Linked DNA regions of Homo sapiens: region 2 is linked to region 1. The links are contacts of gene promoters, found by promoter capture Hi-C in blood cells and fetal thymus (Javierre and others, 2016). All regions are on one chromosome and are shown on one strand. Each heading gives the region's core, a stretch centred on a gene start or on the middle of the fragment in contact. The rest is flanking DNA. Distances are from core to core; before and after follow the strand shown.

Region 1 (3,778 bases), core at 1,058-3,557:
AATATGAAAAGCAATCATATTGAAAATGACTCAAATCACCATAAATTAGGCAACAAAAATCACACAAATTATTTGGGGGAGGAGGATTTTTGTTTAATCCAGTTTATGAGTCCATAATACACACAAAAATTTGAAAACATGAAGACATACACATAATACATCTCATTTCCCACCATTCCCTCAGACTATTTCTCCCTCTCCTCTATTGTTAGTTTTCTAAATCCTCCCATAATTTCTTTATATAAAGAGCAAACATAAACTTGTATTATTACACCTCGCCCTTAAGATGTAACACACTATTCACAAAGTACCGCTACACCTTGCTTTTTTCACTTCATAGCAAATTTTTGCAATCTTTGCATGTTAGTACGTAGAAAGCTTCCTTATTCTTTTTTCATAACTGATTACGCCTAGCTTTAGAACATTTTCAGTCTGCTTTCTTCAGGCTAACTTTTTTTTTTTTTACTTTTTTTATTATTATACTTTAAGTTCTAGGGTACATGTGCACAACGTGCAGGTTTGTCACATATGTATAAATGTGCCACGCTGGTGTGCTGCACCCATTAACTCGTCGTTTACATTAGGTATTTCTCCTAATGCTACAGGCTAACCTTTCAAGACATTCTGTTCAGCCAACCACTTATCACAGGAATTAATTTCCTTCCCCCAAGCTTTGAAAACCAATCAGATTTGAGGTGTCCCAAGGGATAAGTTTCAGAGAAAGCAATTCATTATCTAAATTACATCCTTTTAAGAATGTTTATTTTCAAACAGGTAGAGGGGAATATTGCACAATTTTCTCTAATCGCTTAAAGCTACAAATCAGAACGCAATCTTCAAAGTGAAATTACCTTTGATTTGGGGGGATCAGCGTTATAGTCAAATCAACGACTGTAAAAGTTTACTTCTTGTGCTTTTCTTCCACTGTAAAAATTTTTTTATTTTTTAAAGAAGGCTAAAAAGCCTTAAAGTCTAATAGCACGGCATTCTAATAGCAGGAAACCACAATCTGATTTGATCTTTCATCTGCCAGGTCAGAGACTAGGCTTTTATCTTGCAGAATTAGGCTCACCTACCATCAACAAGAGGACCTCTACAAAGCTACAAACACTTTCAAAGAATATAAACTCTGCGGCGCTGCGTGTAGGAAATTACACTCCAGGGGCCAGAGCGCCAGAGCCAACTCCAGAAAACCCAGCTTCACTGGCGGAAAGAAATCTACAAACGCCAGCGGCGGTGACGGGGAACGGGAAGCGCGGGTGGACGGAAGAAGAGAAACCGAGCGCCTCGCCGCCAACCCTCGAACCCGCGCGCGGTCGCTGGAGTCAGACGCTAATAGCCGCGCGCTGCCTAGGAACGGAACCCCGGAACCACCACCACTAACGGAACCAGCCCGCGGCCGGCAACGGCGGCCGTTCGGACTGCGGACTGCGGCACGCGGGCCGGGCGCCGGGAGGGCGGGGGTTCCCCGGAGGAGCTGGCCGCCCCGGCGCCCCATTGGGCGCTGCTCCAAACGTGCCCGAGTGGTGACAGGAATAAAGTGGGTCACAAGGCCTAGCGGGTCCCCAGCGAAAGCTCTCTCGGCACCCGGTCCCCGTCTTTCCCCGCCTCCCAGCTGCTGGAATCGGCCGCAGCTCCGGGCGCCCTCAAGCCGCCCGGCCCCGCCGTGCACCCCACTCCCGCCCCTGCCCCGCAGGTAACCCCAGCTGCCCCAGAGGGCCTCTCAGGCAGGGCGGGCCTCGGCCCGAAGTCCCGGGAAAAGACACACTAGAACGACACGCCAAACTTGGGCTTCAGCTCCCGCCTTCCCCACCCTTGGCCGCCGCCCCCCGGCCCCACACACGCCGCCCCCCGCTCCCTCCCCTTCCCCGCGCCCTCACCGTGTGGCTTGCGGCGGCTCCGGCTTCTTCCCTCCCCCACCCAGGTCTCCCGCTGCGGTGACTCGGAACCACTACCCCGCCTGTGTCCAGGAGGCGCCGCGGCTCCCACCTCCAGCAGCACCTGGGGCTGTGAGTGGCGCCCCCCACCCACCCCCCCAAAAATTCGCCGCTCCTGTGGCCAGCTCCTCCTCCCCCTCCCTTCCCTTCCCCTCCTCCACCAGCCCAGGAGCGCGCATGCGCCGCCAAGGAAGCCAACCGGCACTCGGCAGGCCCTGGGCCCACCGGGCGGGCGCCTCTCACCGGGAGCGCTCGCGGCGGCGGCGGCCAGATTTCCTTCGCGCTCTCGCTCTCCGGGGTTTCCTTTTTTAAACCGGCAGCCGCAAGCCGAGTCCGTGATTGCGCCCCCTCCCGGCGCATGCGTCGTCAGCGACCCCGCGGGCTCAGACGGCCGGCGGAGGCTCTGCGCTCGCCCCTCCCCTCACTCTCCCTTTCCCCAGCGCGGCTCGGTGCGCATGCGACTTGCCCCGTTAGGCAGCACGGAGCCGCGCCAGGGGATCCCGGACGCCCGAAGAGACTCCCGCGCCCCTTGGGCCGAAATCTGGCTCTGCAGGCGCACCGTTCCCTGCCCCGGCCGGGAACGGCGCCGGTTACTAGAAAGCCGGGGAGGCGGGGCCTGGTCGGGTGGAGGGCGCGGCCGGCCGGCAGAGCGCTAGCCTTAGGTCCTGGAGGCTCTTTGGCTTTCCCCCCGTATGCCGGGGGCTAGGAGGAGGAAGAAGAGCTTCCTGCCGGATGAGGGATCCAGAGGCCAGAAAAGGAACCCGCTCTCCCTTCCAAAGCAAAACACTGCCGACGCCAGCTTAGATTTTTCGGGTGTTGGCAGGAGACTTTTTCCCCCAGTGGCATCATTCGTGTTTCCTCTCCTGGTGCTGGGAGAGAAGAGTTGCAAAGGCGCCTGGACCGCCAGTAACATCTTCTCCCATCTCCTGAGGGAGCGCGGCTTGGGTTGCTTCTTCTTGGTGGGTGGGCCTGGGGAGACAGGGCATGCGCCCTCGGCCAGAGGAGGGAAGCGAAAGGAGGTCGGGATTTATTTGCTCATTTGGAGATTTTTCCCTTGCCCTTTTATTAAAAATCAAGTGACAGTGTAATGGAAGATGGAGAATGAAGCATCAGAAATAAACCAGGACCCTAATTTGCATGGATTTCCTCGTTGGAACAACGTGTGACTACTACTTATCTTCGGGAAATTACTTATCTTGATGCGTTAAGGCACATTTGGTCCACATGAGAAAGCACATTTCAGTGCTTCTACTGGAAAAGAGATCTTTACAGTCTTAATTCCTAGTAATTCCTATGTTTTAATGAATATCTTTTGGATTTGAAATAAAAGCCATCTTTTTCTTTCAAAAAATGCACTTTTCTGGCCGTAAAATCCTCCCTTTAAAGTAACAGTCACCTCAGTAAACATTTTCAATTCTTGCTGTATGCTCTGGGCAAAAGAACATCAAACTGAAGCACTTATTCAGATCCTTGATCCTGCACCTAAGGATTTTTCTTTCAGGAGTGGGAAAACATGATTTGTTAATTTACCCCATCATATAGCAGAAGATATTTTGGTCGACATTTTTGCCTGTTCAGCATTCATTCCCTATTCTGATAATTTCTTTTGAAGAACTATCATTTATCCACTCTCAGTCCATATGGTCTGAGCAGGACACAAGGGGAAGGCATATTTGAGTTTAATCCTCGGTTGCAAACTACGGTTCCTAAGAAGGGTGTTACGTCTTTACCAATGGGTTTAAATCTGGGAGAATGGAGACCTGGAGCCATCTTTCCACACGTGAATTCTGAGAAAGAAGGCAACACGGAAAAAAAGCAGATTTGAAGACAGGTTTGGCCTA
Region 2 (3,704 bases), core at 92-2,591, 230 kb before region 1:
TTTTCTGTTTTGTTAAAATTCCACAGTGTACTTTGGGAGGCCGAGGAGGGTGGATCATGAGGTCAAGAGATTGAGACCATCCTGGCCAACATGGTGAAACCCCGTCTCTACTAAAAATACAAAAATTAGCCGGGCATGGTGGCAGGTGGCTGTAGTTCCAGCTACTCGGGAGGCTGAGGCAGGAGAATGGTGTGAACCCAGGAGGTGGAGCTTGCAGTGAGCCGAGATCGCACCACTGCACTCCAGCCTGGGCAATAGAGTGAGACTCCATCTCAAAAAAAAAAAAAAAATTCCACAGTGTAGGTCCTCAATTTAAACACAATTGGCATATCTGGCATAACATACAGTATGTATAAATAGGAAAACAAGGGGAGAGCTGGCATGTGATCATTTTACAGCATTTCTAAACATATCCTAATATTCTAGAGCTGGATCATGGATAGGCAAGCTATCAGAAGTTGCAAAATAGGAGCTGAGCCCTGGGGGAGAGGTGTGCACATGTGGAGCTCCAGACCTCCGCACTGTTCCAGGCATCTTCTCCAGCCCACACCCAGGGGTGCTGGGATAGAACAGATCTGGGGATGGACTCCCCACTGCTTGATAAGGACATAAGAACTCCCTAATGAGGACATTTTTGCCTAAGAAGAAAAGCAGAATAAAGATGCAAATTAAACCAACAATGAAATTTGTTGTTGTTGTTCTTGTTGTTGTTTTGAGATGGAGTCTCACTCTGTAGCCCAGGCTGGAGTGCAGTGGCACGATCTTGGCTCACTGCCACCTCTGCCTCCCAGGTTCAAGCAGTTCTCCTGCCACAGCCTCCTGAGTAGCTGGAATTACAGGCGTGCACCATCATGCCCAGCTAATTTTTGTATTTTTGGTAGAGATAGGGTTTCACCATGTTGGCCAGGCTGGTCTCGCACTCCTGACTTCAAGTGATCGCTCTGCCTTGGCCTTCCAAAGTGCTGGGATTACAGGTGTGAGCCACTGCACCCGTCCATGAAATGTTATTTTTCTTCATTCCATTAGATTGGCAAAATGTGTAATGTCGAAAAATATCAGATGTTGGGGAGGACTTGAGGAAATGAGTTTTCTTGACAGTGTTGGCAGGAGCATATGTTGGTATAGCCACTTTGGAGGGCAATTCGGACTATACTATTAATCTATAAACTATACACACATGCCCCTCAACCATGTCAAGTGCAGGGTTGATTATTCTAAGAGTAATGCAAACCATATTTTTTAATCTGTACTGTCACAAAAGCACAAAAGTAAAGATCATGAAAATTATAATGTATACAACTGACAATTTGCTGAAATTAGAAAACCCCAACAGATCATGGTAACTCCCTTTTGAGAACAGAGGTTAAGTGGTGGATGGGAGCCAACCAACCAGTATTATAGCATCCACCTTAGAGAAACACCCACATATGTGTATAAGTTTTTCATTGGAGCACTGTTTACAATAGAATGAAAACCGCCTTTAAAAGTTCATCAGTAAGGCCAGGAGCGGTGGCTCATGCCTGTAATCCCAGCACTTTGGGAGGCCAAGGTGGGCGGATCACAAGGTCAAGAGATTGAAACATCTTGGCCAACATGGTGAAATGCTGTCTCTACTAAAAATACAAAAATTAGCTGGGCGTGGTGGCACATGCCTGTAATACCAGCTACTCGGGAGGCTGAGGCAGAAGAATCACTTAAACCTGGGAGGCGGAGGTTGCAGTGAGCCAAGATCACACCACTGCACTCCAGCCTGGTGACAGAGTGAGACTCCGTCTTAAAAAAAAAAAAAAAAAAAAAAAGGTTCATCAGTAGGGAAATGCTTAAATTACAATGGCTTCACACTATGTGTCAGTAAAAGAATGAAGCAGATGTTTGTGTCCAGATGTGGGAATATCTCCAAATTATGTTATTGAATAAATATTTTTCAACAAACTATAGAATGATAAGTACAATTGATACATATACAATTGATATATATATTTATCTAGATCTAGATAAATGTGTATAAACTAATTTTTAAAGTTCTAAAAACATACATACTAAAATGACAGCAACCTCTGGGGAAGGGACTGAGAAAAAGGAGGTCAAAAGGGATGTTAACTTTACCTGTAATGTTCAATTTTAAAATTTACAATGAAAATGTATTCATGTATTTTTATGCAATTTATATGAACAACATTTTTAAAAGAAAGAAGCTCTTACAGAGAAAGTCACAAACCCATGTGGGATATGCTCACCAAGAAACTCCATGTATTCACAGGTTCACTTCTTTGGTGCTCTCCTCAGGATACTTGAAAAGCCATATTTAGCAAAGAGTTTCAACTTTTGCTCACCTGTCTGTTCTTAACTTTTATTTTAGTTTCAAGGATATATGTACAAGTTTGTTATATAGGTAAATTATGTCTTGTGGGTGTTTGGCATATAGATTATTTCATCACCCAGGTCATGAGCATGGTACCCAACAGGTAGTTTTTCAACCCTCTCCTTCCTCCCACTCTTCACTCTCAGGTAAGCTCCAGTGGCTCTTGTTCTCTTCTCTGTCTCCATGTGTACTCAATGTTTAGCTTCCACTTATAAGTGAGAACATGTGGTATTTGGTTTTCTGTTCCTGTGTTAGTTTGCTTAGGATAATGGCCTCCAGCTCCATCCATGTTGCTGCCAAGGTCATGATCTTGCTCTTTTTATGGCTGCATAGTATTCCATGATGTATATGTGCCATAGTTTCTTTACCTAGCCTACCACTGATGGATATTAGATTGATTTCATGTCTTTGCTATCGTGAATAGTACTGCAATGAACATACATGTGCATGTGTCTTTACAGTTGAACGATTTCTATTCCTTTGGGTATGCACCCCATAATGGGATTGCTGGGTCGAATAGTAATTCTGTTTTAAGTTTTTTGAGAAATTGCCAAACTGCTTTCCACAGGCTCGCCTGTGTTTTAATCCTTTTAAACTTCTCCTGCTTCTTTGGTGAAGAAAGCTTCATATCACGAGAAAGAGAAGCAGGGGGAAAGAGGAAGAGAGGGAGCAGGAGGGAAGAGGGCAAGGAGGAAGAGGAAGGAGAAGGGGAAGGTAAGGCAGGGAAAACCATACCTCTATATTCCCCATGAGAAAAAAGGGTCCTTATCTTAGAATCCTGGCCCTATAACTTAATAGCTGTGTGAACTTGAGTGAGTATCTTCATTTTTGGATTCTCAGTTTTCTCTCCTGTAAAGCAGAGAGTTCATAAGAAAGCCTAGGTAAGTTGTCTAGCGTGTGGCTTGGGTGGGGACTGCACTGTGTACTTTTCACAATATAGATATGTAGAGAGTAAGAGCTGAGGCCCTGAGAGCAAGGTGCTGGCTGGCTCTTCTACATTGGAATATGACTAATTCCGTCTGATGGAGGCTGACCAAGTCCTCCCATCTGTTATTTAACAAAGAAAAGGAAACAAGATTTCATCAGTGAGCCAAACCTCAGATCTGCAGAAATCCATCGATGCAAGATGAATTAATTCTGTATGTTATTATTATCATTAGACTTTATATTTATAGCACTCAACCATTTACAAAGCACTTTCCTTTCCATTACCTAATATGATTCTCACCACAACTTAAGGTTATCAAGGCAGATGATGTTTGCATTTCCATAGGAGGAAATTAAGGCTGAAAAGTTAAGGGGTTTTCCAGGGTCACTTAGGAGTTGAGCAGAGATTCAAACT

The links. Contacts are between HindIII fragments. The CHiCAGO score rates a contact against its expected background, and 5 or more counts as called.
Region 2: a contact is called between a fragment that was not itself captured here and the fragment with the promoter of CLOCK in region 1, in 6 of 17 cell types (naive CD8 T cells, activated CD4 T cells, naive CD4 T cells and 3 more). The highest score is 7.1, in naive CD8 T cells.

What each region holds. Positions count from the first base shown.
Region 1 is chr4:55,544,602-55,548,379 of GRCh38, forward strand. CLOCK (clock circadian regulator) reads right to left here and starts at 2,308. Exons shown (of 23, transcript NM_004898.4): 1 at 2,181-2,308. It overlaps LOC124900704 (a long non-coding RNA gene), which reads left to right and starts at 1,264. Exons shown (of 2, transcript XR_007058122.1): 1 at 1,264-2,009; 2 at 3,015-3,288. RefSeq lists silencers at 1,304-1,933, 2,054-2,153, 2,214-2,583. The HindIII fragment of the contact is 4,589 bases long and covers 670-3,778 here.
Region 2 is chr4:55,314,978-55,318,681 of GRCh38, forward strand. No RefSeq gene overlaps it. Among named protein-coding and RNA genes, the nearest start is that of SRD5A3, 29 kb to the right of the region's middle. The HindIII fragment of the contact is 3,281 bases long and covers 1-2,982 here.